5 separate regions of the Homo sapiens genome follow, and regions 1, 2, 3 and 4 are each linked to region 5. The links are contacts of gene promoters, found by promoter capture Hi-C in blood cells and fetal thymus (Javierre and others, 2016). All regions are on one chromosome and are shown on one strand. The core of a region is centred on a gene start or on the middle of the fragment in contact, and the rest is flanking DNA. Distances in the headings are between cores, read along the strand shown. Region 1 has its middle 210 kb from the start of P2RY1. Region 2 has its middle 200 kb from the start of P2RY1. Region 3 has its middle 140 kb from the start of P2RY1. Region 4 overlaps LOC102724289 (a long non-coding RNA gene). Region 5 holds the start of P2RY1 (purinergic receptor P2Y1).

What was found. The method cuts DNA at HindIII sites, captures the fragments that hold promoters and counts their contacts. A CHiCAGO score of 5 or more calls a contact.
Region 1: a fragment that was not itself captured here is called in contact with the fragment with the promoter of P2RY1 in region 5 in 1 of 17 cell types (megakaryocytes); the score reaches 6.1 in megakaryocytes.
Region 2: a fragment that was not itself captured here is called in contact with the fragment with the promoter of P2RY1 in region 5 in 1 of 17 cell types (megakaryocytes); the score reaches 5.6 in megakaryocytes.
Region 3: a contact is called between a fragment that was not itself captured here and the fragment with the promoter of P2RY1 in region 5, in 1 of 17 cell types (M2 macrophages). The highest score is 5.1, in M2 macrophages.
Region 4: a fragment that was not itself captured here is called in contact with the fragment with the promoter of P2RY1 in region 5 in 1 of 17 cell types (megakaryocytes); the score reaches 6.0 in megakaryocytes.

Annotation. Positions count from the first base shown.
Region 1 is chr3:152,617,292-152,623,226 of GRCh38, reverse strand. No RefSeq gene overlaps it. Among named protein-coding and RNA genes, the nearest start is that of P2RY1, 210 kb to the left of the region's middle. The HindIII fragment of the contact is 203 bases long and covers 2,666-2,868 here.
Region 2 is chr3:152,634,305-152,640,293 of GRCh38, reverse strand. No RefSeq gene overlaps it. Among named protein-coding and RNA genes, the nearest start is that of P2RY1, 200 kb to the left of the region's middle. The HindIII fragment of the contact is 1,888 bases long and covers 1,443-3,330 here.
Region 3 is chr3:152,696,769-152,702,703 of GRCh38, reverse strand. No RefSeq gene overlaps it. Among named protein-coding and RNA genes, the nearest start is that of P2RY1, 140 kb to the left of the region's middle. The HindIII fragment of the contact is 7,542 bases long and covers 1-5,935 here.
Region 4 is chr3:152,654,998-152,660,973 of GRCh38, reverse strand. The region is part of intron 2 of LOC102724289 (a long non-coding RNA gene); the gene reads right to left. Among named protein-coding and RNA genes, the nearest start is that of P2RY1, 180 kb to the left of the region's middle. The HindIII fragment of the contact is 1,299 bases long and covers 793-2,091 here.
Region 5 is chr3:152,830,794-152,836,472 of GRCh38, reverse strand. P2RY1 (purinergic receptor P2Y1) reads right to left here and starts at 1,342. Exons shown (of 1, transcript NM_002563.5): 1 at 1-1,342. The coding sequence starts at 690. RefSeq lists silencers at 379-673, 1,386-1,435 and an enhancer at 1,106-1,205. The HindIII fragment of the contact is 2,977 bases long and covers 1-2,645 here.

The DNA.
Region 1 (5,935 bases), core at 1,518-4,017, 210 kb after region 5:
CTTCATCTTACCCGCCCTCTCTACCACTTTTGTTTTTATTCCCAGAGTCCCTATCTTTACTCGTGAAAAGACAATCTCTTTAATAAATATAAATTGTGTTTATTTTTAATTACTTTTCATGTTGTATTTATTTCATTTATGAATTGTTACCACTTTGTATCGTTTTCCATCATTTTGATTCCTAGGTTATTTTCTAGGTAGTTGAATGCTACTCTTTATGTGTGTACCACTTGAGTCATACAGTTTCCATGGCAATAAGAATACAGTGGACAGATATATATCCTAAAGGAGAGATGACTTGTGGAGGCAATGCAATTTGTTCAGATAGCATGGTCCTAGAATAATCAAGAGGGCTTAATCCTACTCTCTCTAGTCCCAAAGGATACATATTAAACCAATGAGGGAAAGTTGTATGTTTGCTCTAAAGAATGAACTTTCCAATAATTAGATTTATTCAATATGTGCTGAGAAAAGGAGGTTGTGTGCATGAGTTTCCAAGCACTGGAGATATAATAGCCAAGACCAAGGAGGGGCGTGGTTTAATGGGATCTGAGATCCCTCCCAACCCTGAGATTCCACAGCTGTCTATTTCATCATGGGATGGGCACCATATACAGAATATGTGTTCATTTACTATTCATAGAAATCATGGGAAAAACTCAGAGAGCTGAGTTTCTTTGATTCCTACTAGAACTACAACTTCATGTGCTGGTTTTCCAGCCCTGACTCTGTCTTGACTTGCAGTATGGGGATTTGGGGTGAGGGATTTAATGCTTCAGTGCGTGTTATGCATTTGTAAATGAAAAGGTGGGACCATAGTGTCACAATGAGTAGAACAGTGAGATCTGGTTTCCAGTCTTGGCTTTGTCACAAATTGGATTAGCAAATCTCTGAGGTTCTTCCTGCTTTAATATTCTTTGAATAAGAACGCAGCTCAGAGTAACTGATTAAAAGCAACCAGTGAATATGATGGCACTTGGACTTATGAAGTACAAAGCTACTATTTTTTAGTCAATCATTCTCTTATAGTAATAAAACAAGAGATGTCATTGTCTTTCCTGTCTGGTCCCAGGAAATAGTTTAAGTGTCAGTAGGCAAGCAGGAAAAAAATGTTATTTCCAGATTAATAGCATCTGTTAAGGTTAACTGTCAACTTGCTCTTACTAGCAGGAGATGTTTTCAAACATTCAGTCACTCAGCAACTATTTATTGAACGTCTACAAATTTTCAAACACTGGGATGCCAGGTGCTGGGGATAAAATGGTAGGTCACAGACAAGGAAACACACATTCCTTTACTTGAGAAGTTCTCTTTCTAGTGGAAAAGACAAATGTATAGTAGGCAGTAATAATAAGTTGGCCTACTGCAGCATAAACTAAGATTCAGGACTAAATAGAGGACAAGTGCTTGGAAAATGTACATGACTTGTTCTGGGCACTCAAAAAAAAAAAGCTGGATGCTGAGTTCTTCTTCTCTCAGTTGCTAGACATAAGGCTCAGCACAGTGAGTCACCAGGGCTTAAAATTCAATGGCAATAATACCTCCATTCGTGCGGTGCAGAGAGAGCAGTTAGCCGTCACAACTTGTTACAGAAACAGATCAATGCTTGATGAGGTTAATCCACTTCGAACATGATAAGGCACGAAGAGGTTGACACACAGCACTTCCCTCAGCTCCATTTAAATTCAGCCTAGCACCCCACAGCCAGCCAATGTATGTGCTGTTTGAACAAGACATATTTCTGCTCATGGTTAATATCAGCTTTAGAGTTTAGTTTGGAGAATCAGATCAGCAGGCATCAGTTTTCTGCTTTCCCTTTCTCCTGTCTTCTGTCCCAGATCACTCTTCCAGACAATAAATGGTCTCTGTTCTTTTTGCAAGTAGGTTAAGGAGTTTTAGACAAACATTGAAAGCCTCCCTTATTTGAAGATTTCAGCTTGGTACTGATGCTTTCGGTCTGTTGGAGAGCACTTGGATAGTGAATTACCTCATTGTTTTCAGATGGGAGCAATTCAGTGAGACGTGTGGGTGTCTAACTGAAAGACGACAGTTCTTCAGAACCAGCCTGGTGGTGATGCTGGTCCCAAGAAACAGGGTTGGTTTGTAATCTAATTCAAAAAGGCTGTTACAAATGCAAAAACAAAGCAGGCATTTCACATGTGCAAAAGACCACTTGCAAAAAGCCTCCATGGAATTCACATTAATTTAGATTTGATAGTTTTTTGATTTGGACACCAGCATTCTAAGCTATTTATCTAAAATACAAAAGTTAGGTACTAGAAGACTATTTAAAAACTGTTTCCTACACTGTTTTTATCATAACATAGTCTAAGCAGCTCTGAACTGTCTGTATTGAAGAATGCATTTATTTATTGTATTTATACCAACTTTGTTTCAATAATTATTTTCAGTGGCCAGGCTATCAGTATGATCTGTACGTTAATTACAAACTCAAAGCGGGCTTGGTTTCTACTTGGGGAGCCTATCTTACTGAAAATTTTATTCCTTTTGCTGAAAATGACAATGATATGAAAGCTCCAGGCAGTGCCAGAAAGACTGCTATTCAGTTCACAAAAGAGCAGGACTTAACTAGACATCTCAGTTGGAGCAACACTAGCAGCAGCCAGCTCCAACTCAGGCTGGCAAATACTCTTGGCACAAAGCTTAAGCAACAACAGTGCAGTAGGTGCCACAGCAGTGCCCTCGCAGGTCTGCTGACTGCTCAGGCAGGAAAGCAGAAAAGAAAGACAAACCCAGTATTTACTCAGATTTTTCTTGGCTATCCTCAAAAATATGGTCTCTACTGCTGCACTCTCAATCATGAGCCTTATTGAAGATATCTTTAAAATGATATCTTTTATAAAAGCTTGGATTCTTTTATCCAGGGGAGGCATTTCAATCCATGTGAAGAAATGTAAATTCCAGACAGGCCTTTTTGAATAAGTAGATACACTCAGAGTGCATTTGCCCACCTTCTTCTACCCTAGATCCATTCCTTCACTTTGTTTCAATCCTAAGGTCTTCTGGCCCTAGAAAGTCACTGAAATTTTTCTCATCAAATTTGTGAATGACCACTTTCAAAAGTTATGTTACTTGGCTTTTCAGCAACATTGACCAATTTTGACCACTTCTTCCTTCTTGAAATGCTGTCTTCCCTTGTCCTCTCTGATACTTCTACCTGTTTCGGCCTTTCCTTCTCAAAGTTTCATTTCCTTTGCCTTTTCTTCAACACCATGTTTCCTTGGGTCCTGATTTGCATCCTCTTCTAGTTTTATGTTGTCTTCCTAGGCTGTCACATCTGTTCTCAGTGCTTTAGCTGCCAAGTATATCGGGTGATTTCAACAAGCACTTCCAATTCCAATGAACTCTAGTCCTATTTAGTCAATTGTCTCCTAACCACATACAGGCCCAACAGACTCCTCGAACTGAATATATGCAAAAGGGAGCTCTTCCTCTCTTGCATATCTGCAACCTGCTTCCCTTCTTTGTTGTCCCATATGCCCTCAACTGGCACAGCATCTACCAGAAGGACAAATGGGGAGTCACCACTGACTCTTCCCTTTGATCACTCCCATACTTAATCCATCAGCAGGTCTTGTTGAATTTACTTTCTTAATAGCTCCTGAATCTGTCCATCTTCTTTTCATCCTTTGCTGCCAGCTGTCAACCTAAATTTTTGACCTCACATACCCACTTGGGGCCTACAACAATATTATACATTTTCCAACCAGGCTGGTTGTTTTAATAAGTATCTAACTTAAAACCAGTAAATGCCTTCCCATTGCCCTCAGAATAAATTCCAAGGTTGTAAATATACCCCTTAAGTTTCAGAGTTGGCTTTTCTCCAGCATCATTTTGGGCCACAACTATTTGCTAGTTGTGATGAGGCTCCATTGGCTTCTCTTAAAGTATGGCCATCCCCATCTCAAGGCATCTCACATGCTGTTCTCTGTTTGGCATAGAGAGATTTACTCTTACATGTCCTTCCAATTTCAAACTCAATCTCCATTCCCTTGCCAAATGCTCTGTCAGCCCCATATATTTCCCCTATCATAACAGTCATCAATTTTTATTTTCATAGCTTTTTTGACAACTGTTTTTTGCCAATACACTGTAAACTCCATAAGGACAGGGTCTAATTTGTCATTATTTCCCCCAAGTAACTGGGGACATGGACCCTTAATGAATATTTTTGAGGGCACAGAATAATGGATTTTATATGCATTTTTGTGTAATGATAAGTATAAACTATAAGCATTTTTAAATGCTTTACAGAACTTTTAGTTATGAGATAAATGTGTCTTCACATTTATTCATAGGATGAAATACTGGCATTTGTGTGCTGGTTGATATTTGAAGGAGATAATAATGAAGTAATATTTCTATCATTCCCTTAATATAGAAGGCATCTATTCTCTGTAAACCTCTTCTTTATTTTTGGCAGAAAACTAAACACAAATGAGTTGTGGAAAAATGCAATTGGGAAATTTTTGTCCATTTTTTTCCCTTTCCCCAGATTATTTATGTAGCTCTGCCTCTCTCCTCTACCAGCTGGAGATGATAAGAAGATACTGATGTAAAAACCAAGGCCTAGAGCTACAGCAGAGGCCAGAGAGGACAAAAGGACAATAGGCAGAGTATTCCGTCCCTCTGCCCTACTCCTGTGAATCTTCTCTCCTCACCCAAGTGTCAACCCAAGGAAAAGAAAGGGCAGGCCCTTGTGAGGAAGACAGCTCTTCCTGGGAGCTTGAACTTTAACTGATTGTTGGAATCCTGTATTACTGAACAATTACCTGAAAGGCACTGCTGTCAACAAAGGTTGGGTTACCCACAAGTGTGAATTGGTTGTCATTACACAGCAGACATAAAGACTTGTGAATTAGGTTCCATTTTTTGGAAAATCAAAGAACATTAAATTTCTGTTCATCAGAGCCATAGTGCAAAGGTTTAAATCTAATGTGGAGTGAAGTCCAATCCTTAGTCTTCCTCAATATAATATTTAGGAGACTGCCTGACATTTGAATATAACAGCTAGGTCTCATCCACCTAATTGACTCAAGAAAGAAAAGTTTCAGTTTCAGATGTGAAATATTACCCTTTCCAAACTATAATTTTACTTAAAATATGAATAAGAACTATCTAGGGTCACAAAGAAGCCCAGTCCAACACTCATAAGAAAAGGACCAAATCTTTTCTCTTACTCTTGATATGAGGCAACTTTGTCTCCTCCATCTCTCCTCTTTTCAACACCACTGAAATCTTCTCTCTTTACCTCCTGTCTCTCACAGCCTCTATTTTTACCTATCTCACATTTAAAAAAATGAATACAAATTTAAAATGATAAAAAAAATGAGTTTCAGTTTTTTGAAACTCTTCTAACCTGAAGTGTTTCTTCTATCTTTAAAAATGTTGACTAGGCATATAAATCAAGAGTTGATAAAGAAAAGGATTAAGATAAAATATGAATGATTATATATAAAATATAATGAGTGATAATTTTCTCCTTGCCTCTATAGAGCTGACTGATATAATTTTCTCTTGTCAGTTTTTAATATAAACTTAATTAGATCTATTGGTAATAAAATAATTGCAAAATTTTGACAAATATTTATCTGGAAAACTAAAATAATAGAAACCAAAGCTCCTGTAACGGGTACTCTTGATTAAAATTTCTCAGTAAGGTGGCTGGGGGCAGTGGCTCACGCCTGTAATCCCAGCGCTTTGGGAGGCTGAGGTGGGCAGATCACGAGGTCAGGAGATCGAGACCATCCTGGCTAACACAGTGAAACCCCGTCTCTACTAAAAATACAAAAAATTGGCCAGGCGTGGTGGCGGGCGCCTGTAGTCCCAGCTACTCAGGAGACTGAGGCAGGAGAATGTCATGAACCCGGAAGATGGAGCTTGCAGTGAGCCGAGATCATGCCACTGCACTCCA
Region 2 (5,989 bases), core at 1,137-3,636, 200 kb after region 5:
AAACGATCCTCCTGCCTCAGCTTCTTAGAGTGTTGAGATTACAGGTATGAGACACTGCACTCAGCTTAAATAAACTAGCTCTAAAACCCTGATTGTTATGTATGTGGCTGTTTCTTTACATTCTCACTAGGAATTAATATCCAAAAACTCTCATTCATTCAACAAATATGAGTAACTACTATGTGTCAATTATTGTTCTTGACATATAGTAGATGTTCACTAATATTTCTTCATAGTCATGTTAATTGCAGTTTTTGTTTGGCTTATTTTTTTGTTACTGAAAATTTGTGGTGAAAACAAAAGGTATTTTGCTCTACTATTTTTATTTCCTGAAAAATAGTAATGGATACTCTTTCTCATCCATTTACTTCTTGCAAATAAACATCAGGGCATAGGAAATTCTTTGAAATTAGAAGAGATCATTAAATTACTTCTTTGGAAGGTATCTCAGTTTTGGAAGTTTCCAAACTGTTAAATGTATTCTTTTTCAGGTAATATCATACATATTTAAAATACCCAAAATTGCTATTTTTCTAGTACAAAGGTATTATATATTATATATCCAAATTTTTAACTTTTTAAAATTTCAACATCACTAAATAAGAACAATGAGCCAGCTTTAATAAACATAAGTAGAAAATTAGAGCAACATTATGAGTGACATTTACAATCATGTCAATCTCAACATCTCATTTACTTTTGTAATTGCTAAGATTACACACTTTCACAAAGATACATAGTTGTTGTGTATCTTTAATGTAATCTAGAAGCTGGAAAGAGGAGGTAGTTGGACACTTTTATTTCAAAGTTAAATCACTGACAACATCTACCATCTGCTCACATTCCCCTTCACAAAAATAAAATTCAGCCAAGAAGCTTCCAAAACCTTCAGATGAAACCCGTAAAAGATATTATCACAATTCTTCATCCTACCCACTCACTTACTATTGCACAACTACTGTTAGGCAGTGATGAACACGTGTACAGAATACCGGCATCTGAGCCCTAACATTTAATTGGACTTGGCGCATGTGTGCGGTGACAGTGTACTCAGACGTTTTTATGTGAAAGAACAAGCACAGACCTGAATTTTAAAAAGAAACAGAAAACAAGTCTTTCTAAACTGTGCACATTTGCAAGGAGCTCAAATATGTACTAATAGATAATAGGTCTTTTTTCCAAGAACTTCCCTCAAGCAAGTTAACCCAGAAGAACTATTTAATGGGCTAAGTGGTTTTCAAAAACACAGTCTGAAATGCCCCATTTCTCTGCAACTACTTCCCTTCATGGGTGAGACACTAAGACCAGTGGAAGTCAAACAAAACACACAGTTTCTTCTCCATCCTTCGTGCTGTTTCCTTAACTGGGATTTCATACCCCTTCAATCCTACCTGGCAGGATATTACTCATTTTTAATAACCTTTCTCAGATACCAGGAAGCTTTGTTTTTCCTCAGACGCATATTCTTTCTCTCCCTGTCTCCCCATCCCCAACATTTGAAATGCACTTAACATATTTTCATATTTCATCCTTTATCAGAAGAGAGGAATCTCCTGCTCTCACTTTATTGTAATTCTTACTACACTGTACAGCAGGCCATATACGTTATAGGCACTAATTAAACAATAATTTCATTGAATTGTTTACCACAAAGATCTATAATCCTCAATAGATCATTTACATTAAAATGGCTTATATTTTGCCGAATTTAATGAAAGTGTTTTTCTGTAATCCTTTTCACATTCTTAGAATTTTGTGTATTTCTTCCAAGGCTTCTATATAGCAATATTTTTTCAGCTGCCTTAGTTCCTTTTAATCCAATTCCCTTAGAAACATTGTTGTTTAAGTTGGCAATTTTTGTAGTAAAAGAGAAGGCGCTACCAGAAAGCTAGAAACGCGTCAACAGTGTGGGATTTGCCTGTGGGCTTTGACTGAGGAGCTGATGAAAAATTAAACAACAGACATGCAATTTTTAGCCCAACTGCACTAAATAAATCTTTTTTTGTGTTTGCTAGTATCTTCATGCTGAATTGTATATGACTGTGTTTTTCAGAATTTCCTCAAACACAAGATAGTGTATGTCTAAATCTGTGTCATTTTATCTTTTGTCAAAGGCCTAGTTGTCTAGAAGCAAAGACTGAGACAAAGTCTGGTAAAGATAGGGGCTTACTATTATTATTAGGAGTTGACATCTTTGGAAGTGAAGGTCAGGAAGCAGGATGGCAGAGAGAGAACTCCCCATAGAGAATGCAGGAATGCATATAGCCCATCAGACACGACTCACATTGGGCTGAGATGGCTGGGCCTCTATACCTCTGCCTTAATCAGGTACTCTGCCTGAAAAAAAAAGTGAGTGCTAGGGAATGTGGCTCTCTGCAGATGGGTCAAACCCTACCAAAGTTGACAACTGGAGGCTGTCTGCTGGGGCAGAAAGTTCCTTCTTTAGGGGCGATCTGGGTAGCACAACTTCATGTCCATCACACCTCTGAATGGAAACCCCCTCCGCAAAATGGGGACAGAGACTACTTTTAAATTTTTTTGAGATCGAAAAACAGAGACAAATAGCTAATTGCCATTAAGGGTTCTGTAGTCAGGTAGGCTTTCAGTTAAGAAGCCTCATGACTCCCTTGGCAGATATTGGAGAGTTTATTTTTCTATAATCTGAGTATTGTGATTTCACAGCATTGATTATGTTCTGGCTTCATGGTTCCACACAGTGAATCCTGGCACAACATGACATTAGTTACACTGAAATTCCCAAACTCCAAATACCAAGCAGCATCAGATTTTCTTAAGATTTCATTTTCTCAGATAAGTGGAACTGGCTAATTAACAGACCCCAAGAGGATTTAATTTCTCTGAGCATATCCACCATTTTTAGAACCTGGGGATTCAAATCACTTTTCTTTGAAATGTGGCAGTTATGACAATGTGATATGAATGATGAAAAATTAAGATTATAGACTGCTTTGAAGGAATTAGAAATCAATCTGGTTTGTAATGAGTCAATCTCTACTAGCAGAGGATCTGTTTCCTGAGACCTACTATGCAACTGTGCTTAGTGTCAGATGCCAAAGCCCAAATAAGGAAATGCCATCATATTGTAATAATTCAAATATGGTAATAATTCTAAAATATTAACTGGTAGCTGGAAAATCCGGTTTCAAAGGTCTGCTTTAACATTGTGTTCATGACATTGAACAATTTCTATCTTTGGCCTTAATCTATGTTTACATTTTAAAATCTTAAGGACAAATCCTTTACAAAGAAGTTGTTTGTCGGGGTGGGGGATGTTTAACTCTTACAAAAATGATTTCGTTAATCAAAGCTTTTGGTTCTTCTTTTGTACTTCTCTGTAAAATATTACTTTGAGAATTCTCAATGAGATAGTGGCTGGATTGAGAACAAGTGATTAAAGACATCTCTGGAATGGTCAGCGAGGTGATGCAGCAAGAAAGTGCCCAAAGGCTTGATGATAATCTTCGGTGTCTTGACTGCATAGCCCTTCTTTTGAAAGGAAACTGGAATAAGTTATAGGTAAGTTGATGCCTGGTTATTTTTTCAGTCATAGACATTTTCTTATTCTGAACTCTATGTTGCTCTCCTATCAACAGAACTTTTTTTGTATTCTAAACAGCACATCTTTAAATATGTATTGAAAATATGTATCGCACATTCTCAAAGACTTAGATCTTAATAAGTAGTTTTCCAATTGGTTTCAGTAACTCATAGATCATTCTTAGTCTCTTATCAGTGTTTAATAATTTTTAAAATAAATACATTTATGAATGAATAATCATGGGTCCTGGTTATCATGGGATCTGCGATAAAGTTATAGACCTAAAACTATTTTCACTGAAACACAGCACGGTCTTCAAAGAAATGGAAACTCATTCTCCATTCTGATTCATGGGATAATGCTCTGATGATTACTGTTGCTTCATCCACAGTGTTCTTCAACTTGAAAATGTGAAAACACTAGTTTATTTTTTTTAATATGAAAAGGTATTTCAAAGAATAATAGTCAGAGTTTCTAAGTTAAAATATTTCACTTACTACTGCTATTATTTCATCCATGTACATCTAATAAAGCTATTGTCAAAATGACAGCCTTACATGCTCACTTAAAATAATTCATATTCCCTGAAAAAAACAACTTTACAGCATTGTTTGTAGCATAATGGTGGCCATCACTTTTTTCTTCACTTCTTAATTATGCACTAGCATCAAGCTTCTTGATCAGGGCAGACCTGTGAGGTGCCAGCACAGTGTACAACTCTACAGACTCCTCTGTTTCTGCAGTCCAAATAGATGGTAATCCCCAGGAGTGATACAGTGCACAGCCATGCAACTGTGGCACTGGCAAATAAAATGAAGAAAGACCCTGGTGAGGGCCCAGGACAGAACAGAAAGACAACATATAAATCAAATGCAGTTATCTGTTCAAATTCTATGTCTCTTTGTGGTTTCCTTCTTTAGGGGTGATCTGGGTAGCACAACTTCATGTCCATCACACCTGCTCCAGACATAGATTAAAGAAGAGACTGAGGAGACAAAAAAGTGCTTACAACTGGTCTGAAAAGTCCAGGAGGATCTTTTCACTGTGAGCAGGAGTTATCAAAGACAGACAGCTCCTTAGCATTAACAGCATCAATTACTAGAGACTTTAGAACCTATATAATCTGGGAACTGAAAATACATTAGATAAGGTTCACAATCTGAGAGTCTATGTTGAAAGACAGGAATGCTGCCAACTTCAGACAGGGCAGAGAGGACAAATACCAGGAAGCAGTTGGAAAAGAACTGTGCCTCTGAGAAAGTTAGGTGGGAGGTTCTTGTTGCTTGTTTCTTTTCCTTTTTTTTTTTTTTTTATTTTATGTTTTTGTGACAGGGTCTCTCTCTGTCACCCAGGCTGGAGTGTAGTGGCACAATCACGCCTCCCTGCAGCCTCAACTGATCTTCCCACCTCAGCCCCCAAGTAGCTGGGACCACAGGCATGCACCACCATGCCTGGCTAATTTTATTTTTTGTAGAGACAGGGTCTCGCTATGTTGCCCCAGCTGATCTGAAGCTCCTGGGCTCATGCAATCCTCCTGCCTCAGCCTGCCAAAGTGCTGGGATTACGGGTGTAAGCCACCATGCCCAGCCAGGCTCTTGTTTCTAATGGCCCTTGGCTCTCACAATTTCCATCTTCTTTTCCAGGAATCTTCCACAGGATGCTTCTGTACACTAAAGCATGGAATATGAAGGACTTAATATGTACATTTGAATTAACTTAAAAATTCCTCTATTTTAATTTCTGCCTTTACAGGCCTGGAACCACAATGTCATAGGTATTTTTATAGACAAGTATTACTTTTACTTTTAATATGGTTGTGAATATATATTTTTGCCCAGGAGAATAGTTTTGTATATGTGTGTGTGTTTGTTTTGCTTTAATGAGAAAAAGAAATGTAAGAAAAGTCCAAAGAATATGTGGACTCACTGAATTGCAAGAAGCCCTCAAAAGGAAACTTGTGACTTTTTAAGAAAAAATACAGCAAAGTAGAAAGGCCTATTTAAGGCATTGAGGAATGCTGAAGGCCAGGTAGGTGTACCTGTGCTCTATGAACTGCATAGAAGAGATGAAGTAAGCCTGTGAGGCCGCATGGTCAAAGGAGTAAGAGCACAATGTTAGCATGAGACAGCCTTCGTACAACTCCTTGGTATAACATGTCTTCCCTCTTCATTGATGTGACTTGAGCAAGTTATTGAGGCTTACTAAGTGTCAGTGTTCCCTTTTGTAAAATGAAGATGATAATATGGGATTAGAGTGAAGGTTAGATAAGATAATGCAGGTGAAATTATTAACATAGGGTCTGGAACAGGGTGAGCAATAATAAATATAAGTGATATTATTATCAAATGCCATTTTGAAAGATCAGCATCAGGCCGGGCGCGGTGGCTCACACCTGTAATCCCAGCACTTTGGGAGGCCGAGGTGGGTGGA
Region 3 (5,935 bases), core at 2,309-4,808, 140 kb after region 5:
CAACATTCCCTTAAGCCAAACCCTAATCCCAAACAAGGCTTCAATTCTCTTCAATTCCATGAAGGCTAAAAGAGGTGAGGAAACTGCAGACGAAAAGTTGGAAGCTAGAAGAGGAAGCTAGTTCATAAGGAAAGAAGCTGTCTCCATAACATCAAAGTGCAAGATGAAGCAAGTGCTGATGTAGAAGCTGCAGCAAGTTATTCAGAAGATCTAACTAAGATCATTGATGATTATCACTACACTAAACAACAAATTTTTAATGTAGACAAACAGCCTCCTATTTGAAGGAGGTGCCATCTAGGATTTTCATAGCTAGAAAGAAGTCTATGTCTGGCTTCAGAGCTTCACAGGGCAGGTTGACTCTCTTGTTAGGGGCTAATGCAGCTGGTGACTTTAAGTTGGGGACAGAGCTTATTTACCATTCTGAAAATCCCAGAACCTTTAAAAATTATGCTCAACTTACTCTGCCTGTGCTCCATCCATGGAATAATGAAGCCTGAATGACAGCATATCTGTTTACAGCAGGCTTTGCTGAATATTTTAAACCCACTGTTGAGACATACTGATCAGAAAAAAAGATTTCTTTCAGCAGATTACTGCTCATTGATAATGCACTTGGTCAACTATGAGCTCTGATGGAGACTAATGCTGTACAAGAAGACTAATGCTGTTTTCATGCCTGCTCACAAACTATCTGATATGGTTTGGCTGTGTCCCCACCCAAATCTCAACTTGAATTGTACCTCCCAGATTTCCAAGAGTTATGGAAGGGATCCAGGAGGAGATAATTGAATCATGGGGGCTGGTCTTTCCCATGCTATTCTCATAATAGTCAATAAGTCTCACGAGATCTGATGGGTTTATCAGGGGTTTCCTCTTTTGCTTCTTCATCATTTTCTCTTGCTTCCACCATGTAAGAAGTGTCTTTCACCTCCCCTCATCATTCTGAGGCCTCCCCAGCCATGTGGAACTGTAAGTCCCATTAAACCTCTTTTTCTTCCCAGTCTTAGATATGTCTTTATCAGCAGTGTGAAAACAGACTAATATAGTAAATTGGTAACAGTAGAGTGGGGTGTTGCTGAAAAGATACCTGAAAATGTGGAAGTGACTTTGGAACTGGGTAACAGGCAGAGATTGGAACAGTTTGGAGGGCTCAGAAAAAGAATGAAAAATGTAGGAAAGTTTGGGGCTTTCTAGAGACTTGCTGAAGGGCTTTGCCCAGAATGCTCATAGTGATAGTGGACAATAAGGTTCAGACTGAGGTGGTCTCAGATGGAGATGAGGAACTTGTTGGGACCTGGAGCAAAGGTCACTCTTGTTATGTTTTGACAAAGAGACTGGTGGCATTTTTCCCCTGCCCTAGAGATTTGTGGAACTTTGAACTTGAGAGAGATGATTTAGGGTATCTGATGGAAGAAATTTCTAAGCAGCAAAGCATTAAACAGGTGACTTGGGTACTGTTAAAGGCATTCAGTTTTATAAGGGAAGCAGAGCATAAAAGTTCAGAAAATTTGCAGCCTGACAATGAGATAGAAAAGAAAACCCCATTTTCTGGGGAGAAATTCAAGCTGGCTGCAGAAATTTGCATAAATAGCAAGGATCCTAATGTTAATTCCAAAGACCATGGGGAAAATATCTCCAGGCCATGTCAGGGACCTTCACAGCAGCCCCTCCCATCACAGGCCTGGAGAAGCAGGAGGAAAAAGTGGTTTCATGGGCTGGACCCAAGGTCCCGTACTGTGTGCAGCCTAGGGACGTGGTGCCCTGTGTCCCAGCTGCTGCAGCCATGGTTGAAAGGGGCCAATGTACAGCTCAGGCTGTGGCTTCAGAGGGTGGAAGCCCCAAGCCTTGGCAGCTTCCACATGGTGTTGAGCCTGCAGGTGCACAGAAGTCACGAATTGAGGTTTGGGAACCTCCACCTATATTTCAGAAGATGTATGGAAATGGCCTGATGCCCAGAAAAAAGTTTGCTGCAGGGGCGGGGCCCTCATGGAGAACTTCTGCCAGGGCAGTGAGGAAGGGAAATGTGGGGTCATAGCCCCCACACAGAGTCCCTACTGGGGCACTGCCTAGTGGAGCTGTGAGAGGAGGGCCACCATCCTCCAGACCCCAGAATGCTAGATCCACTGACAGCTTGCACCGTGCACCTGGAAAAGCCACAGGCACTCAATACCAGCCCATGAAAGCAGCTGGGAGGGAGGCCGTACTCTGCAAAGCCACAGGTGTGGAGCTGCCCAAGACTATAGGAACTCATCTCTTGCATCAGCATGACCTGGATGTGAGACATGGAGTCAAAGGAATTTTAAAATTTGACTGCTGCACTGGATTTTGGACTTGCATGGGCTGTGTAACCCTTTTGTTTTGGCTAGTTTCTCCCATTTGGAAAGCCTGTATTTACCCAATACCTGTACCCTCATTGTATCTCGGAAGTAACTAGCTTGCTTTTGATTTTACAGGCTCATAGGCGGAAGGGACTTGCCTTGTCTCAGATGAGACTTTGGACTGTAGACTTTTGGGTTAATGCTGAAATGAGACTTTTGGGGACTGTTGGGAAGGCATGATTGGTTTTGAAATGTGAGGACATGAGATTTGGAGGGGACAGTGGCAGAATGATATGATATGGTTTGGTGGTGTTCCCGCCCAAATCTCAACTTGAATTGTATCTCCCAGAATTCTCGTGTGTCGTAGGAGGGACCCAGGAGGAGGTAATGGAATCATGGGGTCCGGTATTTCCTGAGCTATTCTCATGATATTGAATAAGTTTCATGAGACTTGATGGGTTTATCAGGCGTTTCCGCTTTTGCTTCTTCCTAATTTTCTCTTGCTGCCACCATGTAAGAAGTGTCTTTCACCTCCCACCATGATTCTGAGGCCTCCTCAGCCATGTGGAACTATTAATCCAATTAAACTTCTTTTTCTTCCCAATCTCGGGTATGTTTTATCAGCAGTGTGAAAATGGACGAATACACCATCCATTCTGCAGCTTATGGATCAAGGAGTAATTTGGGCTTTCGAGTTTTATTATTTTAAGAAATATGTTTTTTAAGGCTATAGCTGCCATAGATAGGAATTCCTCTGATGGATATGGGCAAAGTAAACTGAAAACCTTCTGGAAAGAATTCACCATTCTACATGTCATTAAGAACATTCATGATTCATGAGAGGAGGTCAAAATATCAACATTAACAGGAGCTTGAATGAAATTGATTCCAACCTTCATGGGTGACTTTGAGAGGTTCAATACTTCAGTGGAGGAAGTAACTGCAAAGGTGAAAATAAAAAGAGAACTACATTAGAAGTGAAGTCTAATGATGTGACTAGATGGCTAAATTTGAATGGATAAAGAGTTGCTTCTCGTGGATGAGCAAAGAAAGTGGTTTCTTGAGATGGAATCTGCTCCTGGTGAAGATGCTGTGAACATTGTTGAAATTACAACAAATGATTTAGAATATTCCATAAACTTAGATGAAAAAGTAGCAGTAGGGTTTAAGAGGATTGACTCCAATTTTGAAAGAAGTTCTACTGTGGGTAAAAGGCTATCAAACAGCATCACAAGCTACAGAGAAATTTTTCATATACTAAAGAGTGAATCAATGTGGCAAATATCACTGTTGTCTTATTTTAAGAAATTGCCAGTCACCTCAATCTTCAAGAACCACCACCCTGATTAATCAGCAGCTATCAGCATTGAAGAAAGACCCTTTACAACTTGCTAAAGGCTTAGCTGATGATTAGCATTTTTAGCAATAAAGTGTTTTTAATTAAGATACATAGATTTTTAAAGACATAATGCTATTGAACACTTAATAGACTATAGTATAGTGTAAACATAACTTTTATAGTTACTGAGAAACTAAAAAATTCATTTGACCCACTTTATTGTGATAATCACTTTATTGTGGTAGTCTGGAACTGAAACTGCAGTATCTCTGAGGTATGCCTGTAAACACATGTAGTTTTCTTTGCACCTTGAATTCTGTGCTTTTTGTTATAGGACTACTTTCCCAGTGTCAAAAGATTTGTAAAATCTATCCATCAAAGTTGATAAAAGTGATGAGAAATAAAAGCATCATCTCTGGGATAATAGAGTGGTATCATCTCTGGGATAATAATAGTGAACACAGATTAGGATCTTACAAAAGGCCAATGTTATGGTCAAGATGTGTGTTTGAATTTAAAAGTAACCTGAAACAGAGAAAAAATATTGGATCTCCTCTTTCTCATCCTAAAATCCAAGCTCTAAGGAGATTCCAAGTTTATGATTGTTGTATTCATCAGGGTTCTCCAGAGGGACAGAACTAATGGAATATATATATATATATGAGTTTATGAAGTATTAACTCACACAATCACAAGGTCCCACAGTAGGCCATCTGCAGGCTGAAGAGCAAGGAGAGCCAGGCCAAGTTCCAAAACTGAAGAACTTGGAGTCTGATGTTCAAGGGCAGGAAGCACTCAGCATGGGAGAAAGATGTAGGCTGGGAGGCTAGGTCAGTCTCTTTTTCATATTTTTCTGCCTGTTTTATATTCTAGTCACACTGCAGCTGATTAGATTGTGCCTACCCACATTAAGGGTGGGTCTGCCTTTCCCAGCCCACTGACTCAACTGTTAATCTCCTTTAGCAACACCCTCACAGACACACCCAGGATGAATACTTTGTATCCTTCAATCCAATCAAGTTGACACTCAGTATTAACTATCACAAGTTTCATATTGCTCTTGGGATAAGAAGAAGGTGGTCATTGTTTGCTCGTGTGTGCTCAACAGGGACCATGCAGGAGCTGGAACATATTAAGAACAGTAGACCTAAGTATAAGTTTATTTAATACTTGCCTTGTTCTTGACTGAAAGAACATCTCTGAATTTTCACCCTTTCCCTCTTAACCTACAGTCATTTCCACTATACCTCTTAATCCTGCTTAATTTCTACATAACGCTTATCACCTCTCACGTATTATATATTTATTTGGTTACTCGTTACAATCTGTGTCCTCCCACTAAAATAAAATTTCCATGGGACTTAGAACTTGTCTGTTTTAATCATTACACTATAGTAATCCCCTCTAATACTGCCTATAGCACAATGGTCACCAAATAAATATTTGTGATAGAATTAACAAATGGGAACTGAGCAACTCTAGATTTCAGTTAAAACACAAGAGGCCTCATATCCTCTCCTAAACTCTGTATGAGGAAATCTGGAATGCAGCTTCTCCTTACCACCACTCCCATTCCTGGCTACCTCAGTGTACTCCAATATTTTTCCCAACTCCCAAAGTTTTTTGAAAATTAGTATTTAAATGATAATACACAAACATGAGTATAAAGCATAACTGAGTTTATTAAATTACAAAACACTTCTGTTTTTACTGTTATTCTAAAACTATACATTGAGTTTTTACTGTTATTCTAAAAGTATATATTTTAAACAAACACACTGGAACTTATTCACACTTACTATATAGGGTGAGGTTCCTTTTGAGTTGCTGAGGCACCTAATGACTGTTACTTGCAGAAGAGGTATGCTTAGTTCTCTCTTACATAAAAGTCTGAAGTTATGCAGGCTAGGACTTGCATAGGGCTGGATCCCATGAATGTTTCAAGCATATGAATTCTATCTCTTGCTGCTCTACTATTTATGTGACCTCCAATCTCAAGATCATCTCATGGGCCAAAGTAACTGTTTCAGTCCAACTATTTTGTCACATTTCAGCCTGTAGGAAAAAGATGTGGACAAAGAAGAAAGGGCAAAAAATGCATGGATGTTTGTCTAGTAATGAAAATTCAAGGTTGCCACATGACACTTTTGCTTATATCCCATTGACCAAAACCAAGTGACATGATTTCATCTTGTTTGGAAGGAGGCAAGGAAATGTAGCCTTTCTTCCATGCAGTCATGTATCCAGCTAAAAATCAGGGATTCTACTACCATGT
Region 4 (5,976 bases), core at 193-2,692, 180 kb after region 5:
GGAAACAGTAAATTAGAAAGGTATTTAGAGACACTGGAGTTTAAGGAAATTGATCTTAATCTATTTAAACATTATGAATACTAAGGAATTAATTCATAATTCTCACCTTAATATGAAGTGGAATAGGGTTGCATTCCTTGACCAACAGTAATAAATGTGTTTTAATGATCCACAGAGCATTCGAATAAGATGTCTCATTTGGAATATATTATCAATTTCCTTTATAAGGCTTTATAATTAAATCTACTATCATTAAAAAGTTGCGCTATTATTTGCTTGAATGTTACTAATAACCTACTTGTTGCCAAATCTGTATGTCTTTTATTCTTTGAAAAGTAAGAAAAGGTTATTCCTGAGTAGGAAAAGGTAACTTAAGGAATATGAGACAAATGTCTGTCAACTGAGAAAGCTGTTGAATTTTGAGGCATAACAATGAAAGCTCTATTTATAGATATTAAGCTCTAGAATTTCACATTTTGAAGGAACATTAACAACTTTTTTACAGCTGACGGGCTTGGAGAGATTATTTAAAGGTTAGAACCCAATCTGGTTAATTACCTATGACATGACTTCATATATTCAAGACTTTATGACTCCGTGTTAGTCAAGGGTTATAATATATATGTTTCATCCCTTTAATAATATCAGAAGACTTTCAGGAAAAGCACTTTTTTTCTTTTTCTGAGTCCTCAGCATCCAAAAGAGTGTTTGGCTCAAAAAGCATTTGTTGAGTAGCATATCTTAAGAGGTATTCACTTGAATTGTTATTCATTTTAGCTATTTATAAAAGCTTAATCCGTTGTTTCTTTGGAACTGAAACTTGTATATCACAAATTTTCACTGTTGTTTGCTTTTACATTTATCAGCTTTTGTTATCTCTTATCTCACCATCTGATACCTATTTGTTGATGCTATCTGTTGATATCTTTTTACATTTTAGAGATAAGAAAGAATTCTAAAACTAAATAATTTAAAATAGTTTTAAAAAATATATAGGTTGCACAGGAAGAAAAGTGATTATCTTTGGAAGAATCTCCAAACAAATTATCTAGTCAAAGGAAAACAAAAAATAGTAATTAAAAAATTTAATTCAATTCAACTAGCACTGATTGAACATTTCTTATGTTTCATGCATTGAAGATGTAACAGCAATAAGACATAGGTCTTACTTCAAGGAACTCATATATCAGTAGAAGATATGTACTGTATAATAATGTGATCAGTCAATGGTATTTTAAAGCAGTAATAATACTTCATACATATAAATATGAAGTATTTTATAAGTATTAACACACTTAATGCTAACAACAATTTTGTAAATGAGAAAATTGAGGCATAAAGAGAGGTTAAATAATCTGCTCCATTTATGTAACTAGTTTTTGGCAGAGCTAGTATTTGAACCAGGCAGTCTGTAGATTCAGAGCCTGCATTCTCATGCCACACCGTACTGCCTCAGAACTCACCGCAACTTCTCAGTTTTTGTTTTTTTTTTAATTTTGTTCATGAGATGATTTATTTCTTTTTACACATATATCACCAAAATTAGAAAGTAAGATTTGCAGGTTATTTTACATCAGGACAGTAAATCCATTTTTGACTTCTGAGAGATTTTTCATGCAGAAGTTTGAAGATTGTAAATGCCTTTACAAATATATAACATTATTAAAACATTTTTATTTTATGAATATGAAATATTTTAGAAGTAACGAGACAGCCAAATATAAAGGAGTCACTGGAGAACCCCCAACTGGCCTGTGTGCTGGGAGGAATGCACACTGGGGTGGAGCCTCAGGAAGTTCACTCTGTTTGCCCTGGGGAGGAGCCTGGCCCCTCTTCTTCCTGGGTGGAACCTGGAATTCAATCTGTGACGCGGGAAGCATATACTAGCAGGACTCTCACTCTGCTGAGGGTCCCTCTTTCCCCTTTTTTCCTTTTTTCCAATAAATTCCATTTTTCTCACCCTTCAAAGTGTCTGCAGGCCTAATACTACATAGCTGTATGGCAAGGACCCCATCTTTAGCTGAACTAGGGAGAAAGTCCTACCACAGTACAAACATCTGATATAACATACACGTGCATTTCTGAAAAGCTTGCATTAAGCTACATTGCACACTTCAAGTTACAAAGTTAATGGGGGAAAAAATAGAATTAGCATAGACCACTCAAAACTTAATGCACTTGATGACCAGAGCATTAACAACAATAACAAATCCTACTCAATAACAATTTATCACAGTTTTTAAAAAATGTTAAAATCATAATAAAGAAAGCAATACTACAGTAACTAATATGACTTTATTCCAAATACAAATGAAAGTAGGCTATCAGAATGAGGTAAAAGAAAGACTGCTGAATTACAGAAAAAAGCACAACACCATCAGAAGTTACAGGTGTAGCATTTTATGTAATAAGTAGATGCAAGTTTCACACATACCACAGCAAAGATATGGCTGGTGATTTTGGATCATTATCTTGTCATTGTTTCTTTTGCACATGATCAACCTCCTGGGAAGATAGGATGAATGGACATGGTGTACAGTACTGTATTCTTCTAAGGTTTGCTGTATGCAGCTTTGTTAGCATATTTTGCACTCTGCTGCAGTGTAAATGCTGGCAGTGCAAAATGCAGGGGGAAAATCCCTTAGGAGCCTTCTCATCACCCAAGTTATGTTCACATCATTCCCTCTTTAACAATCTTATTTCCATTTACATTACAGAACATGCTCTGTAGCAAAATAAACTATATTTGGAATGGATTACAGTGAAGGAGAACATCAACAATTTTATCACTAGATTATTTCTTATTTCAGGTTCCTTTCTCCTTTTCTGTCAAACACACTTAAAAGCTAAACATGCAAAATGCTTTTCTAGGTTAAGTTCAATTATAGTTAGTAGTATAGGTGTCACTGCATAGAAACTACTGCTTTCCAGACAGAGGCAGAAGGATCGCTTGAGCCCAGGCCTTCGAGACCAGTCTGGGCAACATGGCAAGACTGTGTCTTTACAAAAAAAAATTTTTTTAATTAGCCAGGCATGAGGTGGGAGGATTGCTTGAACCAGGGAAGTTGAGGCTGCAGTGAGCCCTGATCATACCACTACACTCCAGCCTGGGTGACAGAGCAAGGCCATGTCTCAAAAAACTAAAATAAAATAAAAATAAAGAAACTATTGCTCGCATTTCCAAGCAACAAGTATCCAAGAGGTCATTCACACATGTTCCTTTGCAATTTCAGCATGAGTGCAAATATTTTTCTTCTTTCATCTCTATCAACATTAATACAAAATTTAAAATAAAATGGGATAACTATTATAGCCCTCATTCGCAACAGCCATAATTTAGGACTGAGGGATTAACTAAAGTTCGGTATCACTTAAAAGAGCAAAACAAAAATAGAAAACAGCAGTTTTCCTAGTCATAATAAAAAAAGTTTTTGTCCAATTTACAAAAAGTTCCTGCTAATTAAAACCTACTAACACAGTCACAGTTCATATACTATCAAAGTTGTTATTTGAGTAGTCAATTAACTATCCCCAAAGCACCACAACCAGATAAAACAATTTATTTTCTTGTAGTGTTGTCCTAATTTGGTCTTAACGAGGAGTTGAGCTTGTCTTGTATGTTTGTTCCTTGAGTTGCTGAAGGCTTGATTTACTTGTCCCAGTAAAAGTCTCTGCTTGTTCCCCTCCTTCTCTGAACAAAGACTGATTTTCATATGAAAAGAGTTAGTGAATGTTTTCCCTTAGGCACTGGGGCTAGCTTTTCCCAGAGAAGTAGGCTGTTGCATTGCTTTTGTCATCTTTGATCACAGAAAAGTTTTCAAAGGGCAGCATAAACAATGATAGTCAAGTTGGTCTCTGCTTTCATGAAGAAGGTGATGGAAGTGAATTTTAAACAATTTTAGCAACAAATGTTTGCTGGCACATGAATCTGGATTTACAGTAATTAGAGATATCTGAATTTTCACAAAATAGTCTAGGCATACTTTTTCTTTGGTCTACCAAGACTTGACACTCATTGTTGCTTTGGTTTTCCCTGGTACAGCTGATAACATCAAACACTTAAAATTAGCACTGCAGAATGCAGCTCCAAGCAGCAGCTTCCGGTCGAGTGATTTTATCAATGGTTACAAGAGTAACAGAACTCCAGAGCCGGGATTCTGTCTTGGCTTGTAAAATATCTTTCAGTTCTACCTTTAATATGTTTTTAAGTAGAAAGTAACTTAGTATCATTATGTTACTAAATCCCAGAATCTTTTTTGGAAGGGAGCAAAGGATTTTGAAACACTGAAGATACGGTGACAAAATGGAGACGTGCAAAATTATATTCTTCTATTGACATTCACTGTAACTCTTCAGTGGTACATATATATTAATAACAAATTTCAGGCATTCTAAACAACTGTTGAGGATCTGTTTGTGAACATTTTCCATGTGAGAGAATTCTTTACTCCCCCTAATAAAGCCCTATCTCATGATTTATGCATCAGTTCTCACAGCCTGGCTGCACAAAAGTTTAATTCCAGAGTGCAGGGAAGCTGAAATGAGGAAGTTGAAGAGACTGAGAGCTTTCTTGGGAGTGCCTAGCTACTTCTTCCCTGAAGATCCGTACCCGGAAGCCTGGAGAAACATAGCTGATCCAGGAGAAAATGTGAACCTGCATCCTACGGCTCTAAATTCATTTCCAGACCCCCGCCCTCCAAACTCTGTTCCCAGCAAGTGACCTGACATTTTGCATCAGGCCGAAGAGCAGACAGTTGCTAGGGGGCTGGCTATGGGGCAGCCATAAAGAAAATAAGCTAAAAAATAAATAAATAAACTTTGAGAATTCTTCTTTAAAATATAGCATTCTAGAACACTTTAGGTTTTCTCAAAAAAATGATTTACAAGTTAATGTTCAAATACATTAATCCAGAACTTTCAATTACAAGACGAGTAAGTCCTGGGGATCTAACATACAGCATGGTGAATATAGTTACTAATACCGTATTGTTTACTTGAAATTTGCTGAGAATAGAACTTGTGTCCTCATTCCTTCCTTGCCATGCATACAAAATGTTAACTATGTGAGGTGATGAATGTGTTAATTAATCTGATAATTAACAGCAATTAGTTAATTGTAATTAATTGTAATTAGATACATTTCACAATGTATATGTATATCAAACCATCACATTGTATACCTTGAATTTATACGGTTTGTGTTAACTTACCTCAATAAAGCCAGAAAAAAAGTTAAAATTTTCCCCCAAATTAATTCAAGAATGAAGATATTTGATTATATAACACTTGCATGAAATAGGAGTACCAGAAAGCATGATAATGGGAAAAGGCAGCAAATGTGAAAACCACCTTTTCCTGATGTAGTTCTGACTTTGCTCAGGGCTCATCCCAGATGGTTACCTTGTGCATATGCTATATTCTAATTAAAACCCAAAGGAACATATTCAGAAAAAGAATGACTCATCTTAAAATTTTTCATTTAAATTTTATTCATTGAAATGTTTTCATTTAAATTTCATTTTAAAATTTTACTGAATTAAGATAGAATTTGAAATCCCTAAAATAATTAACTATTACTAAGTATGTAGAAGGCCCTTAAATTCCATCTAACTTCTTTTGGTTCTGATATGATTCCCTGCATTTGTTTCGTTTGCATTCCTTTCCCTTTGGATTTGAATGGGAAATTGATTATTAAAATTATATTGCTATATATTAAAATATTGAAATGAAAATTAAGATTTGAAAATAATATTTAAAAGAAGTTAACCTTTTTGCATTAGGCCAGTTTACGTTAGGCAAAATGCTAAGAAAATTAATCTGTACAATACCAAAGGCATTATTATATTCCAAATCCCAAAAGTCTTTCTTGCTTCTTGTAGCAAGGTGCATTAGCTGACTAACAGTATTTCCAGGTAGAAAAATGGAAAGGAAAATGCTGAGCCTGTTATAGAGAAGAGCTTAATAGACTCGTGTGCA
Region 5 (5,679 bases), core at 93-2,592:
CAAGGGGACACAGAACATGGCCACGGTCGTGCACATGCTGTAGATGAAATAACTTCGCAGGTACTCGTCTGAGGTGGTGTCGTAACAGGTGATGGTTTTGTTTTTGCGGACCCCGGTACCTGAGTAGAAGAGGATGGGGGAGATCGCCACCACCACAATGAGCCACACCAGCACGCTGATACAGATCGCATTCTTCTTTTTGAGCCGGCCCAGGGACTTGAGGGGGTACACCACACCGCTGTACCGGTGGGCACTGATGCATGTCAGAAACAAGATGCTGCCATAGAGGTTCACATGAAAGATGAACCTCTGCAGTTTACACATGGCATCCCCGAAGATCCAGTCTGTTTTATTGAAGTAGTAGAAGATCAGGGCTGGCAGAGTCAGCACGTACAAGAAGTCGGCCAGAGCCAAATTGAACATGTACACGGAGATGCCGCTCCAGGGCTTCATGTGGAAGACGAACATCCAGATGGCCACGCTGTTGCCCAGGAAGCCGATGATGAATACCAAGATGTAGACAGCCGGCAGGTAGTAAAACTGGAAGCCCGTCTTGGTCAAGGCGCATTTGAACGACGAGGAGACGGCGGCAGTGGAGGCGACCGTGCTGTTCCCCCAGGACGAACCCGGACCGGCCAGGAAGGCAGCGTCCGTCCCGTTGGGGACAGCCGGCCACAGCACCTCGGTCATTCTCTCCTCCTCGACTTAGGCGGCGGCTCCGAGGGGTAGGAGGCGGCGAGAGGGCAGCGGCGGCCAGGGGCGCAGCAAGCATCGGAAAAGCCAGCGAGCGGAAGGGAGCAGGCGAACTGGATCCCCGCGGGAGGGGGCGCGCAGGGGCTCGCCCACGCCAGCTCTGGCCCCGCGTTCGCCGCGGGCCATGAAATCCGCCCCGGGCCGCCACCGAACTGGGCTATCGGGCAAGCCAGCAACTTCTCCGTCCGCTGGCAACGCCGAGCTTACACAACAGGGCGCGCAGGGAACCGCCGCGGATAACTTTCCGACTGCGCTTTCCCGAGGGGCCGCGGGTCCGCGCTGCAGAGCGCGCCAGAGGCGCAGCGAGGTCAAGGGAAACTCGCTCTGCAGGGCTCTAGCTTGGGGAGGCTGCTCCCCAGCCTCCTTGGCTCAAAGATCAACTTAATTGGGGGCATCTTCCTCCTCCCTACCTTAGAAACGTGCAGCTCAGTTTCGGGGCGTCTAACCGCTTCCTCCGCCCACCCTGAGCTCAGCTCCTGGCAGCCATCGGAGCGCGCGTGGCCGCAGACTCGTGCGCTTCTGCAGCGCGTCCCGTTCGGCGTCCGCGTAGTTCAGGAACCCCTTCCCCAGGCCCAGCTCTGTCCGGAGTGCCGGGGTTAGGCGGGAGAGCGGAGCTCCCTAGAGGGTGGGCGGAGTTTGGGCACCGGGGCGAGTCCGCACTCCGCGGGGAGGCGAGGGGCGTGCCTCCGCCGAGCTCGCCCAGCAGCCAGCCCGCGTCCTCCAGGGCGCAGTGGGAAGCAGGAGGCGTCTTCTGGGGAGCAGGTCTCCGCCGAGGCCGAGTGTGTTCAGCCTCTGCCGGCACGCTGCTACCGGAGTCGGCGGCGAGGGAGAGGGGTGCGCTCCAAGGTGGCTGCTGGCAGGCGATTGGCCCGCGAGCGCTCCTTCCCTCTTCCGCCAGCTATCTCGGCAAAGTGAAGTTGCTGACACACAGGAAACCCTTCCGACCGCTTAGAGCCTTCTGCCTACAACCCCAGAGCCGACCAGTCCGTAGCAGGAGCCTCTAGGGCCCTCGAGAACCACGCCAGGTGTTTTCAAGCTCCAAGCAGCCAGGAGTCCCTAGCTGGGAACGCCTGTCATTGCAGAGCGTCTAGCTTTGCCGGGACCGGATTTCTGGCACATGCAGGAACCTGCTATTCCAAGAGGGCGCGAGCCTCCAAAGGAATGAGGGTTGGGAGAGGAGTGGAGAACTCTGTTTCGCCCTTCTTACCTTTTTTTTTCTTTTTTTTAAATTCTAGTACTGTTTTTTCTTAATTACCCAAATGCTAATAAACCCACGTCATTAATAACATCAACGTGAGAATTTCCAAAATAGTCTTGTGAAGATATTACTAGTCCATATTGCACATTGCTTCAGCTCAAATTTGTCGTCATAGATACTTAACACCTATCAGACAAGACAAGCTCCCCAAATCCTCCTGTTCAGTACATTTAAAGATCAGAAGCTACAATGAAAAAAAAAAATTCGAAATTTATCCCTTTGAAAGTAATTTGAATGCCAAATGCAATACATTTATATTGATAGACGTAAAAGACGGTTATAATTCCAAAGTGACTAAGGTATGGTTTTGGTAGGGGGTGGCGGGGGGAGGGGGGTATTTCCAATTCTATTTCTTTAAGTTAAAGTGATTAGTTACAATTACCTCTAGTATCTTAAAAATACAGACTTGGGACTTCCTTAATTACTACATTTACTGACAAACTCGTTTTCTTGCCTTGAATGTAAATTTTAAGCAATGCACTTCAAAAATGTATTTGAGCAAGTTTAATTGGAAACTAAATGAAATATTAGCTGTTCAGGAACATATATAAATGGACCCGCACAAGAATGGAATCTAGCACTTCTTGACAAGTTACTAGTTAATGTATTTTTACATGACACATTAACAAAAGCTTTTCTCTTAGAGGAAAAAAAATCCAAAAAGAAAATATCTGTAAAATATATAACATCAAGATTTCTTTCTGGTCCCAGATGCTACATGATAGTGTTCCCTTAAAAAATAAAGGAAAACCACGAGCTCCTGGCTTTGATACCACAAAGGAAAATATCCCCCACAAGATCCAGATGGTTCTTTAGAGGAACACATATAGGAAGGAGCATATCTTAGCACATGGTATGAATACACTGGGTTTTGAATTGTAGTCAATTGAACAGCATAAAAATTAATAATAAAACAAGAGTAAATAATTCAAGTAAACAGTGTGAATGAGGTTGTCTTGAAAAGTCTTACTTTTTGTGTTTCCTTCCAATCTCCTGATTATATGAGTCTATGATTCTGAGCCTTAACATGAAACATTTGTGTATTGTTTGATTAGTATGGTCCTAGGTGGGATGATTGTCTATTAAGAGAGAAAAGGAAGCAAAGAAAACCATTAAGGGTTCCAGGGGTACTCAATAGGTCTTAAGTCCTCACTCCTTTGCATTTTTTATTTGCAACCTAGGCAATATCTGACTTCACTCAGAAGTTTGTTGCAAATGCATTAACTCATAATGTGAGTGTTTTGAAATGTACACTTAGTCCAGATACCATTAAGTACTTGCAGAAAACTGACACCTTACTAGGAATTGGGGGATAGTTGTTTTAAGTGCACCACAGACTTTTTAAAAAATGATGTTAAAAAATAAATTTTGGGCTGGGCGCTGTGGCTCACGCCTGTAATCCCAACACTTTAGGAGGCCGAGGTGGGCAGATCACGAGGTCAGGAGATGGAGACCATCCTGGCTAACACGGTGAAACCCCCTCTGTACTAAAAATACAAAAAATTAGCCGGGTGTGGTGGCGGGCACCTGTAGTCCCAGCTACTCGGGAGGCTGAGGCAGAAGAATGGTGTGAACACAGAAGGCGGAGCTTGCAGTGAGCTGAGATCGAGCCACTGCACTCCAGCCTGGGCGACAGAGTGAGACTCCGTCTCAAAATAAATAAATAAATAAATAAATAAATAAACAAACTTTGTAAGCATTGCTTTTGCATTCAACATATTTAACTACACAGTTATGTTTCAGTTATGCTTTAAATCAAAATTTTGCCTTGTGGGAATAAGTTACATATATTCAGTAATTACTATAACTTTCTATTTGTAAAACATTCAACTATTATTAATGAAGAAAAAATCTAAGAATCATTATTCACATTTGAACATCAATTATAGATGGCTTAAAGACATGATAAAAAATTCTTACATATTTAAGTGACATCCCTAAGCATTCCATGTTAATTTTTTTTTTTTTTTTTTTGAGACGGGGTCTCACTCTGTCGCCCAGGCTGGAGTGCAGTGGCGCAATCTCGGCTCACTGCAAGCTCCACATCCCGAGTTCATGCCATTCTCCTGCCTGGCGTGGGACTACAGGCGCCCGCCATCATGCCCGACTAATTTTTTTGTATTTTCAGTAGAGACGGGGTTTTCACAGTGTTAGTTAGCCAGGATGGTCTTGATCTCCTGACCTCATGATCCGCCCGCCTCAGCCTCCCAAAGTCCTGGGATTACAGGCATGCATGAGCCACCGCGCCCGGCCTGCCATTACTTTTAATGGCAGTCTTGGACTCATAAACAAAAAGGTTGCCCTTCTTATGCCCTTATATTTAAGTAGCAGTGTAAGAACCTGACTTCAAGAGATTTACAATTTAGTTGGAAATGCAAATAATATATATAGCTAACCATAATAGTAAATATAACAATAGCAATAAAAATAGGCCTTTGCTGTACACTCAAGTACTGTGTACATGTAAAAAGGATTATCTCTTTTCACCCTTAAAATATGCATGATGATATTTGGCCATTGTATTCCCATTTTATAAGTGATGAAACTAAGGTACAGGGAGGTTAAGTAATTCACCCATAGTCACACAGTAGATACTGGGATTTAAATGTAGGCTGTTTGTCACTGAAGTCTATGCATTCAGCCACTATCCCATGATGAAAAAAAGCAAATACGGGGCACTGAGAGAAACGTTAACTTTTAGTGGCCAGCACAGATTGCGTTTAGAAAGCGTTACTCCCAGAAGCCTTCCCTCAGGAGAGAAAATTCTAAGCCAGATATTGAAGTTATTGATAGTCAAAGAGTATTTCAGAAGCTTCTAAATATTCCACTTCTCTACATAGGCTTCTTAAAAACAGCCAGCGATTTACCTATAATCTGAGAGAGAAAATCACTGGGACATCAGATCTGTTGAGTTTTAGACTCATAAACAAAAAGGTTGCCCTTATTATGTTTACAAAGATTTTTATCACCATATTTAGAAAATCTCTATTTTCTTTTTCTTTAAGCCACAGAAAATCCAACAATCATTAAGAATGGGAAAATCATTGGAAAAATTCCAATTGAGGGCCACAGGCAGAAAAGGGAAAAAGAAACTTCTCATAAACATAAAATATGAAATCTCCCATCTGAGTAGAGACCAAAAAACCATCAGATTTGACTAAATAAATATCATACCACAAATGCTAAACCTAATTCTGGTAGCAATATGAAGGAAGTTGGGAGCTGATAGGTAAGACAGCTGTTAGGATTTACGGAGGAGAGACGATGAGACCCTGATTTATGAGATAAAGGTTCATCTCATATCCTTTAGAAGGATATCATTAGGATATCCTTCTAAATTGAACTTCTGAGATTCACTTTAGGAAAGGGAGGAGACCCTTTCCTTCCCCAAGAAGAAAATAAGAGAAAGAAATAGGAGAAGTGTAAGGAATTCCCAGCTGATGTCCACCAATGAAGTAGGAGAAGGAGAAGGCTAAGATGGAGCAGAATTGGAAAGAGAGTATACAGAGAAAAAATTAGGATTGTCCTGTGCCAAGGAGGGCCCAGCTGCTCCTATAAATTATACACTTGTCATGGATCCAATCAGTAGGCTTCCTGAAATTTATTTCATTAAGAATCACAGCAGGGGTATAGGACACAGAATATACCCAGCAGGATTGATCTGAAGT